Linked DNA regions of Homo sapiens: regions 1 and 3 are each linked to region 2. The links are contacts of gene promoters, found by promoter capture Hi-C in blood cells and fetal thymus (Javierre and others, 2016). All regions are on one chromosome and are shown on one strand. Each heading gives the region's core, a stretch centred on a gene start or on the middle of the fragment in contact. The rest is flanking DNA. Distances are from core to core; before and after follow the strand shown.

The links. Contacts are between HindIII fragments. The CHiCAGO score rates a contact against its expected background, and 5 or more counts as called.
Region 1: the fragment with the promoter of ZBTB7B here is called in contact with a fragment that was not itself captured in region 2 in 1 of 17 cell types (non-activated CD4 T cells); the score reaches 5.0 in non-activated CD4 T cells.
Region 3: the fragment with the promoter of S100A9 here is called in contact with a fragment that was not itself captured in region 2 in 1 of 17 cell types (total B cells); the score reaches 5.4 in total B cells.

The regions. Positions count from the first base shown.
Region 1 is chr1:155,001,440-155,005,087 of GRCh38, reverse strand. It overlaps ZBTB7B (zinc finger and BTB domain containing 7B), which reads right to left and starts at 2,286. Exons shown (of 3, transcript NM_001256455.2): 1 at 2,145-2,286. RefSeq lists an enhancer at 1-314 and silencers at 1,018-1,137, 2,848-3,037, 3,148-3,387. The HindIII fragment of the contact is 14,435 bases long and covers 1-3,648 here.
Region 2 is chr1:154,335,800-154,339,517 of GRCh38, reverse strand. It overlaps ATP8B2 (ATPase phospholipid transporting 8B2), which reads right to left. Exons shown (of 28, transcript NM_001370597.1): 12 at 1,974-2,170. It also overlaps the pseudogene RNU7-57P. Among named protein-coding and RNA genes, the nearest start is that of ATP8B2, 12 kb to the right of the region's middle. The HindIII fragment of the contact is 731 bases long and covers 1,558-2,288 here.
Region 3 is chr1:153,356,188-153,359,690 of GRCh38, reverse strand. It overlaps S100A9 (S100 calcium binding protein A9), which reads right to left and starts at 1,837. Exons shown (of 3, transcript NM_002965.4): 1 at 1,810-1,837; 2 at 1,258-1,422. The coding sequence starts at 1,407. The HindIII fragment of the contact is 1,008 bases long and covers 1,685-2,692 here.

The sequences.
Region 1 (3,648 bases), core at 1,037-3,536, 670 kb before region 2:
GGAGGAGCTGGGGGCCCTGGGTGCCAGGGGGCACCATGGGGAAGAAGAAGGGGACAGCACCTGTCTTCCAGACACTGGGGTCTACATCAGCCAGAACTGAGTAGTGATGAGAGTCCCATTAGAGCAAGCCTGTCTCCTTGACACCTGAGCCTAGTGGGCACTGCCTTCTTTCTTCCCCAGAGCCCCATTCTGGTGGTATTAACCCCTTTTTGACCCCTGTGCCAGGGCTGGGGGTGTGTGGTACCCAAGGGAGGGGACAGTGTCTGGGGGTGCCAGCAGGTTGTGTTGTGCCCACAGCAACCATGTAACAGAGGCACGCTGGGGGAGCTGGGGTCCCTGGGGCCAGGGACAGAGGCACTGACAGAGATTTCTCCTTGTTTCATCAGCTGCTCCAGGGGGAGCCCCCTACCCTTCTCCCCAGTTACCACTAAGGAGGAACACTAACTATCATCCAGACATAGTCACACATATGTCCCTCTCTAGCGCAGCACAACACTCCTTATGCCCACTCTCTCCTCCCCAACCTGATGTCCACTCCATGCCAGCTCTCCCAGCAGTGCCAGGCGGGTACAGGGGTGACCAAACCAGTTGGTGTGTGTGGGGCAGCAGGAGGCAACCCCATAATCCTCCAGGCCTCATCCCCACACTCACACATACTCCCTTAGGGACCAGACAGTTCCCATCCTGCTTTAACCCCTCACAGCCCAATCTGGTTCCCCCGTCCCTGATAAGCGGTCTCCCTCCTCCAGGAATAAGTTGGGGGAAGGGGGAATAGCTGCGCTGACTCATTCCCATTCTCGGCTGCAGCTAGGGGTCTCCAAGGCATTCGGGCGGGGGTCAATTCAAGAACACCCTCCACCTGGCCCGGAAGCCTGGACAGCCTGCCGGTCTCCCCCTCTCCCCAGCACCCACTTCCGGTGTCCCAAACTAGGTCAGCAGCGCTCGTTTCCTGTGGGTCAGCTAGCACCGGCGCCTCTGCCCCTCCCCTGCTCCGGACCCAGGCTCCCCGCCCCCCTGCCCCCCAGGGCGCCCCGAGGTCTCACCATGTCTCAGCCGCCCTTTGATACGTGGGGGTTGTGCGGGGCGGGGGGCAGGGGACCCGCCCTCTCTCTAAACACCAGCAGGGCCGGGGCGCCTGGGCAGGCACGTGTCCGGGCACAACCCGCTGCCCACGCCGCCCCCCCACTCCCGCCCCCACCTCGCTCTGGCCGGGACACGTCGCTCTCTTACTTGGGATGGGGTGGGAGGAGGGAGAGAAAGCTGGAAATTGAAAGCAGCGCCCCCCACCCCTTTGAATGGCAGCCTTCTGCCAGGCGCACTCTGTAGGTTCTACAACAACACAGTAGCGACCCCCACTCTGGGCTGGGGCAGGTGCGCCGGCGCCGGTGGGGGGACGGGTAGTAGGTAGGAGAATTCTTCCTAGTCACCCGCCCTCGCTCTTGGGTTCTGTGGTCATGAGCTGGCGTGGAAAAGGTAGCGGCGGGACTGGAGCCTGAAGGAAGGGAGTGGGATTGAGGGGCAGGGAAGAGAGCGGTCGTTCTATGTCGGTTCAGAGGTTGTTGCTGAGCCCCACTACCGCTGGAGAGAGCGCGGCTCTGGAAGCGCAAGAAACCGAATAGTCCAGCCGGTAACTTTCCCCCAAGCCGCGGCTCCTCCTGCGCCCCCCCAACCCCCATGCAACTGGCCTGGGGCCAATCCACCGCGCCAGGGGGCGCGGGGTGGGGGGGGGGTGCGCGTTGTCCTAGTTAGAGTCCGTCAGCGTTTCCATTCCCTCAACTCAGTCCGGTCTGGGGTCTCCCCCTAAAGTCACGAAGGAGACTGGGGGAACGCTCAGCGTCGCCTCACCCCCTCTCCATCCCGAAGCCGTCTGTCTGTCTGATCCCAGGAGAAGTGCAGATAAACTTTCTGGGGACCCTCCGCCTAGGGTTGGGGGGCATCCGCAGTTCCTTCTCTGTCTTTCATCTCAGTTAAAACCAATTCCAGAGACCCGGGGTGTTGGGAAAGCACAGGGAAGGGGAGTGGTGGGAATGTGATCTGCATGCGTGTGTATCTGGGGGTCCCACTTACAGGACGGACGAAGGACACTGCAGTAGTCTCGAGCCTAGTGAACCCCGAGCCAGGAGACAAAAGTGGGGTACACTCACCTCTCAGCCGTCGGGTCCGCTGGCTGGAGCTGCTGAGGCTCACAGTGTGGGAAGAAGCGCGTCCCCCACCAGGCCCGGGGGCTTGGGGCCCTGCTCCGGTCCTGGTCAGAAGGCCGCGGTCAGTTGCTCGCCGCTCGCTGCTGGGGGGCTCCTCCTCCGCCGCCCTCTGCCTCCTCCTGCCGCCCGCCCCCCCTCGGCCGCCAAGAGCCGTACATTCACCTGGCTCCCACCCGCCCCCCCCTCAGGGCCCGCCTCACCTGTCCTGCTGTCTCACCTGTCCTCCAGCTTGCTTTCCCCCCATCCCTCCCCTCCCTCCCCCCGCCCCTGCCACCCCCCAAACTCCCCCCCCCCAACACTTAGAAACACCCTCTGTCACTTCCTGGTTTTTCACCCGCCCCCCCAGGCCCCCTCCCTCCGCCCAATAAGGACATAAACTTCAACCCCTTCGTCCAGCCAGTCCCTGCAGAGCGCAGATGGGTCCCTCCCTCCTTTTTTGCCCCCTTCTCCAAACTCTTACTTAGCTCTCCTAGCCTTTCCCACCCTCCTCCTTTCCCTCCTTCTTTCCTTCTCTCTGTCTCCCTTCACCTGCCGCGGTCCCTCTCTCCCCCCCCTTTCTCCTGCCCCTATCTCTCCCAGTCCACCTTAACTCAAACTCCGCCCCCGGCCCCCATCCAGCCCTTTGCTGCTGCTCTGCCCGCCCCCTGCACGCCACCGCCCTGTCCGCTCATTGGCCTGAATACCCGCTCATCTCCAGTAGGTCTCGCCTTGCGTTCGTCCAGGGAGGGGGCGGAGCCGAGGGGCTGGCCTGGAACCTGGAGAGGAGGGGGGAGGGGGCAGTGTCCGCAGCGGCCAGGGAATCGAGCACCCCCTACAGGGGCTCCCTCTCCTTCAAGAGGGGCTTCTGTAGGGTCAGGACCTCAGGAGGGAAGGGTATGAGAGGTTAGGGATAGGCTGGGTGGGGGTGAATTGGGGACTTAGGGTCTTGAGGGAGGGGGTCCCGTGAGGGGCTGTAATCAGGTCAGGGACCTAGAAGGGAGGGGGAGGGGGAGCCACCAGGCCTTCGGCTCCGGCCCCTACGCCCCACCCCCTCTCGGAGGGAGCCGGGGAGTTGAGCCTGCGGGCGCCCTGCGTCCCTCCCCACGCGTGACGGTGCCCCGCGGGGAGGGAAGGGCGCCCCAGGCAAGCAGCCTCTGTGCTGTCGCCAGTGCCCGCTGCGGCCTTGGCATTGTCGGAGGGGAGGGGCCCAGTCTGCGAAGGGGGAGGGGGCGCGCCGACGCTTTTGCTCCCCACCTCCATCCCGCGGGTTCCCTAAGTGGAGAAACTGAGTCTCCACCGAGGAGGGATAGCTTGACATGAATTCGCTGAGAGACCCAGGTGGCGAGGGGTGCCTGGATGTTTTGGGATGTGTGGTATGTGTAGGTTTTGGGGAGGACCGGGATAAATACTTAGGAGTCCCCCAACTGAGAAAGGTAGCGGGTGAAGGATGTTTCTGACTGAGCCTGCG
Region 2 (3,718 bases), core at 674-3,173:
CACAAAGGCATTTAAATAGTAATGCAGAAGGGAGTGGCAACAGTCACAATGAGCAGGCTACCACCCAGTAACTGTACAGTCACTTAAGTTTAAAATGTATCTTCTAAGCCAATATCTTATATCAAGACATCCTATTAAAAGGTGAGACAAGTACTCCTGTTCCTGTTTCACGTGGGAAAACTAAGATCAAGTGAGGCCCTGAGTGACCGTGGATTTTCCTGAGGTCACATGGCCAGTGAGGAGGCAGGACTAAACCCAGAACCTCCCAACTCTCCTCTTCACACCCTGGAAAAGCCTAAACTATATTCTCTCAGCACAGAAATGCTGTATCTTCTATTTATTATCACCAGCAGTAAGATTGGGGGCTGGGAGAGAGTTGAGGGCTATTTGGGGAATCTGTATGAACAAAAGATGGGAGACAGGACAAGTTTTCAGCACCTCCATAAAACATTTCCTTAAAAATGTCACAGGTTCCCTTATCTCAAGTGCAAGGCACTAAGCAAGAAAGTTCCTTTCCCCTGGCCATTCCTCCTGCCTCGTCTTCCTCCGATCCTCCCCTTCATTCTCACTGGCCTGTCCCTGCTAACATTCTCTTTACCTCAAACATCCTACATGTTGCCTTGATCCTATTCATGCTGTACACTACTGCCAGTCAATACTTCCTAAAGCATTCTTTAGTTTTTTTTTAGAATGCATTTTTTTCTTTTTGTGGGGGAGGGGTTCCAGTGAAAACTGGAAAACCTGCTAGACAAATTCTAAAAGAGCTGTAACACTTAGAATGCATTTTTAGAATACAGAATACATTCTTTTGACTTTCTTCAAAAACTTTTTTGTTTGTTTGTTTGTTTCGTTGTTTTTTGAGACACAGTTTCGCTCGTTGCCCAGGCTAGAGTGCAGTGGCGTGATCTTGGCTCACTGCTACCTCCACCTTCCGGTTTCAAGCGATTCTCCTACCTTAGCCTCCCAAGTAGCTGGGATTACAGGCAACCACCACCACACCTGGCTAATTTTTGTATTTTTAGTAGAGACGGGGTTTCAACATGTTGGCCAGGCTGGTCTCGAATTCCTGACCTCGTTATCCGCCCACCTTGGCTTCCCAAAGTGCTGGGATTACAGGTGTGAGCCACCGTGCCCAGTCTTTTCAATAACTTTTAATGGTTAGTAAATACAAAGTCCACAGGCAAATATTCAAAAGCCTCCACAATCAGGAGCAAGCTATGTTTCCAGCTCTTGCTCTTGGCCCAAGACCCTGGCCAACTATTTCCATAGGCCATTCCCAGGCTCCCATCTCCACACCTTTGCTTCCAGCCCTCTCAGCCTCCTCTCCATTGTGGCTCCACCTTCATCCAGCCCAGTCACCACTCAAAGCCCAGAGCAAATGCCATCTCTCCCTCTCTGCCTACCTGCTTAGGGAGCGACACTCTCCCAGTCCCCGGGCACCCTGTGCCTCCCACATGGTATCTCAGTCTGACACTGTCCAGATCTCCCCTCCTCGACCTATCCATCTGCTGCTGCTAAAGGCAGAGGCCACCTTATACATCTCTGTATCCCCAAGCTTCACATAGAAGACTCTAGGTCGAATTCTACAGCACTGGTTCCTATTTTGTTTTATAATGTGTTTAGATTTTCCTTCCTTTACTAGACGTAAGCTCCTAGAAGGAAGGAGATCCATTCCTAATTCATCTTTTATTTGTGATGGCACCTAGCACACTTCTTTGTACACAGTAGGCATGTAATAAATAGGTGCTGAATAAATCAATATTTTTTTTTCTCTAATACAGTCCCAAGTACCAGGAAACTGTGGTAAAAAGTTTGCTCTGCCCACAAAGATAAACAGATAACATCAAATGTTTACAGTACAGGAAGAAGAGGACTTCTCGTTACTTCTCAAGGACTTCATCTTCATAGAAAAGAAAAGTTCTATGGGACCGCCTGACTCCCTGGAGAGACCCCAGGTCAGAGAAGGCACATACCTGACATAGAGTGAAATGGGCACAACGGTGTTGAGGATGATGATGTAGGACCAGAAGGAGAGGAAGCCAGAGAAGAAGGCACTGTCCACTGCCTCATCCCACGGCAGGTAGACCTGGAAACGCATCCCCACCTCGTGCTCCCAGATGGCATTGCCAATGGCCAGGATCACCCCCATGCAAACCAGGAATCCAAAAATCTGGGGAGGAATGAGAAGCACAGGCGAGGCTGACATGTAGGAAGCCCTCAAAACCAAGTGCATCTGTGATGTATTCATCCCTTGAGCCCTCAAAAGCTCAGATGCTCTAGTGCAAGCTTGTCCAACCCATGGTCTCTGGGCCACATGTGGCCCAACACAGATTCATAAACTTTCTTAAAACACTATGAGATTTTGGTAACAGCTGAATGTTAAATGAAAAATAATTATAAAAAAAAAAAAAACTATTATGGGCTGGGCGCAGTGGCTCAAGCCTGTAATCCCAGCATTTTGGGAGGTTGAGGCGGATGGATCACCTGAGGTCAGGAGTTTGAGACCAGCCTGGCCAACACGGTGAAACCCCGTCTCTACTAAAAACATTAAAAAAATTAGCCAGTCCTGGTGGCACTTGCCTGTAGTCTCAGCTACTCAGGAGTCCAAGGCATGAGAATTGCTTGAACCCGGGAGGCAGACATTGCAGTGAGCCAAGATCATGCCACTGCATCCCAGCCTGGGCAACAGAGCAAGAACCTGTCTCAAAAAAAAAAAAAAAAAAGGCCAGGTGCAGTGACTCACACCTATAATCCCAGCACTTTGGGAGGCCAAGGCGGGCAGATCATGAGGTCAGGAGTTCGAGACCAGTCTGGCCAACATGGTGAAACCCCATCTCTCATCTCTACTAAAAATACAAAAAAATTAGCCGGGTGTGGTGGCGGGCACCTGTAATCCCAGCTACTAGGGAGGCTGAGGCAGGAGAATCACGTGAACCCGAGAGGCAGAGGTTGCAGTGAGCCGAGATAATGCCATTGCACTACACTCCAGCCTAGTGACAGAGTGAGACTCCGTCTCAAAAAAAAAAAAAAAAAATTTATGAGATTTTTTTTTGCAATTTTTTTTTTCTAAGCTTATCAGCTATTGTTAATGTTAGTGTATTTTATGTGTGGCCCAAGACAATTCTTCTTCCAATGTGGCCCAGGGATGCCAAAATATTGGACACCACTGCTCTAGTGGAAAAAGCTCAGAACTGGTGACAGGTTCTAGTCTGTCACCAATTATCATGTGGCCTTCTGTCTGACCATTATTTCATCTATATGATGAAGAAACTGAAATAGTTGATTAGCTCTCAATCTGGCACCTTGAAACCTTCCAGAGTCCTCAAAGTTGGTAAGAGTGGGGATGAGCTACTTTTAACATACCAGAAAACTTACTGTAAATAATCTATTCACCTGGGCTAGGTACAAGCCAACAAAAATGCCAAGCCACGGTAATGTTCACTATCTCACATAGATGGCCTTTTTTTTTTTTTTTTGAGATGGAGCCTTGCTCTGTCGCCCAGGCTGGAGTGCAGTGGCGCGACCTCGGCTCACTGCTGCAAGCTCCACCTCCCGGGTTCACGCCATTTTCCTGCCTCAACCTCCCAAGTAGCTGGGACTACAGGTGCCCGCCACCACGCCCAGCTATTTTTTTGTATTTTTAGTAGAGATGGGGTTTCACCATGTTGGTCAGGATGGTCTTGATCTCTTGACCTCGTGATCCACCCACCTCGGTCTC
Region 3 (3,503 bases), core at 588-3,087, 980 kb after region 2:
AAAAAAAAAAGGAGAGACATCAGGGGAGGTGGAAGACCCAGACCCAGGCGGGGTCCAAGAGAGCACTGGTTGGTTCCAGCTCTGCCACCCTCTGGCTGAGTCACCTCGCTAAGTCCCCTCCCAGAACCTGTGGGGTACCCAGCCAATGCGAGCACTCTCCTGTGCAGCCCATCCATGAGGCTCTGCTTCCTTTCCCACAGCATCGCTTTGCTTCTGGTGGGGGATGTCAGGTGGGGGGTGAAGCGGGCATAGGGGGTCACATGGAGGATAGTTTTGCCATGCGGCCTCTCTGCTGGGCCCTTTCTTGCCTACCCCACCCAGCATCCTGCCTGCCTGAGGCCTCCACCTATGGAGAGCTGTCAGGGCCCCTAACTCTGAAGGCTGCAATTCTCCACCTTACCAAGGCGGAGGGAGGGGCACTGGGAGGGCTGGGGACCTACCCCAGGATGTCTGGCTCCGGGACTGGAACTGAGACTGAGACCCATGTGTTCCACCCTTCTTAATGCAGGCCTCTGTTTCCCGACTTTCCCCAAATTTGAAAAGAAAACAAAAAGGCTGTTGGAAGTGCTCAGCCTTTTTCTTAGAACTGCCTAATCATTTTTGGAGCGGGGGAAAAACCTCCCAGTTCCCTGAGTGCTGTGCAGGTGCTCTCCATGTGCTCTTTATGCATTCATTTTCCACCGCAGACCCTTAGGATTAGAAAAGCCCCCAAGTCTTCCACCCCAAGTTCCCGCCTGAGGCTTAGGGTCTCCTCAGCTTTGTGCCAAGTGTCATCCTCAGGGGCTTCCCTCCCCAACATTCGGGGCTCAGCTCAAATGTTACCTCCTCAAAGAGGCCCTTCTCATGTACCCTAACTGGTCACCTCCACCCCACCCAGCCCCATTGCCCACAGCGCACTCTATCTCATTTTCTTCCAGGCACTTATTGGCATTTGGCTTTATCTGTGCTCTTTATTGGCCAACAACTTTACTGTGTGTCTCCCTCCACTGGAATAGTGGGCTCCCCATTTACCACTACATCCCTCTGCCCAGAACAGGGCCCGACAAATAGCAGGTGTTCAATTGAGCAATTTCTTGACCCTGTCGTCCTGTGTAACTGTGAGCACCTGCCCTGTATAACAGGACACTCGCTGCGTCTTGGGGCTGGGCTCCAGGAGCTCAAATCTTCCCCTTGATTGCTGTAGCCCATACTCCCATCCTCCCTTGTCAACCCAAACTGCGGTGAGGCTGGGTCAGACCTGCCAGAGTCCAGCCCTACCTTGAGAAAATTTTGCAGATCTTTTCGCACCAGCTCTTTGAATTCCCCCTGGTTCAGGGTGTCTGGGTGCCCCAGCTTCACAGAGTATTGGTGGAAGGTGTTGATGATGGTCTCTATGTTGCGTTCCAGCTGCGACATTTTGCAAGTCATCGTCTTGCACTCTGTCTGTGTAATGGAAAACCAAGAGTTGGGACACTTAGAAGAAAATGCTGTCAAGCTTCTTTGACACTTCCTACTAAGCACTCACAGAAATAGTGGGGGAAGTGCAAAATAAAAAGAAAGCACAGGCTGCAACTTAACTGGGAGATGGCCTGTCACACACATGTACAAAATGATTTTTTAGAATATCTACAGAGTGCCAAAAAGCAAAGCATTTGAGGGCAGGAGGCCCCAGGGGAACATGACCTAAGAAAATGTGAAAGAAGCTTTAAAGTAGGCAGGGCCAACCAAGGAGGGCTTCTAGGAGGAGGATTTGGAAGGAAGTTGGGTCAGGGAAGGAAAGAAGGAATCGGCAGGCAGGCTTCTGCCTGGGGAAGCTGGCAGCTCACTTACCAAAGCCGAGGAGCCACACAGAGTGTTTGCCAGAGCTGTGCAGGCTCGGCATTTATAGGCAGCTCCTGACTGGGGCACTTGGCCCTTTGGCCCTGTCTCCGGAAGATTGCTTCACAGGTGAGCAGTGTGGTAATGCTGCCAGGAAGGGGGCTGGGGCGGGGCAGGAAATGTTCACAGAGCGCCTTCTGCTTTTTTGTGAAATTCCCAGCCCTGGCCTGAAACTGGTTTGGGAGGAAGCTGGTTGTTTAGTTCATTTCCCTTCTATCCTAAGGCCCTACTCTCCCCGAGCGAGCCTGCTGCTCCTCTGGCACCACTCAGCCCCCCATCCCCTTTGAGGTTGAAGCAGGCTGAGGACCTATGGGGGCCTGACCCTCTCGGCTGCCCCCCATGGGCAGTCTGCCCCTTCCTTTTAGTCCAACAAGGATGGTCTGAGCTCTCACCCATGCTTGCCTGGCTCTGTGATACTTAGGATGGCGAGGGGTTGGTGTTCTTAGATTCATAGGGTGAGATTTGGGGTTAGAAGGGTTCTCAGAGGTGGGCAACCCTCTTGCATTGTAGATGAAGAAACTGACACCCGGAGATGGACCTGAGCAAGGTCACATAGCTGGTTGCTGACTTGGCAGGAAGGGGACCCAGCTATTCTGGTTCCTGGTTAAGGGCAATTCTGATGATACCTTCCTCTTGCAGTCTGAGTGAGAGAGCCTCAGGGCGAATATGTTTCTAGCATCTCTCAGCATCATTTTTCTAAATCCTGCTCCCAGCAAGGGTTCCAGGAACTTATAACTTGGGAGACAACTGTTTTTACTTAGCCTCCTGGTGGGCAAGATGTGTCCTTCTCCTGCTACGAACCTCCAGTTGCTCCCCATTGCCTATGGAGAAAGCTTGGCTTAGCCCTGCGCACAAAGCCCTCTTGGAATGGCCCTGCCTGTCCGGCCAGCTTCCCTTTCACTACCTCCCTGCCCACTGTGGGAACACAGGGCCCACCTCCCACCTTGCCACCCCAGGAGTGCCCTTCCCCTACTCCACAGTGATATCCTGCCCGCCCCCACGGCTCAGTTCTAATGCACTCTCTTCCAAGGAGACTGCTCTGTGCTTCCCATTTGGAAACAGTTTCTGTCTTCCTGACTATGATTCTCATACCACTTCTGGCTCTCAACACTTGCTTTCCTGGAGTAAAATTATATACATATTTTGCCTCTGTCCAACAATTGGCTGTAGATCCTCAAAGGTAGGTTCTCATTCATGTTCTCCTTCTCCTATGCACACAGCCCGGGGCTTGGCAAGAGAGACACCCTCGGATTTGCTGATTGATCCTTGCTGAAGTCCTTGCTGGCATCCTTTCCCGTCACCCCTGGAAGCCAGTATGGATGATCCACCCTGGGACTCCCTCTTGCTTGCTGCCCCCTCTCTCTATCAGGAAAGATGGTTCTCTTCTTCTACCTGCACTGGTTATTTTGTTCTGTCTCCATGAAGCCTTCCTTTATTGCCCCAGCCCCTCCTGACTGCTTTGTCCTCTGAAAGCCTGAGGCAATCTCTGTGTGTGCTAAGCATTGGCCCTAAGCATGGCCTGCCTCACACTGCTGAGATGCACCTGGAGTAGTGGTTAAGACTTCAGACTGTCTGTGTGACCTTAGGCAGTTTACTTAACTTCTCTGTGCCTTACTTTTCTTATCAATAAAATAGGATAATATCAG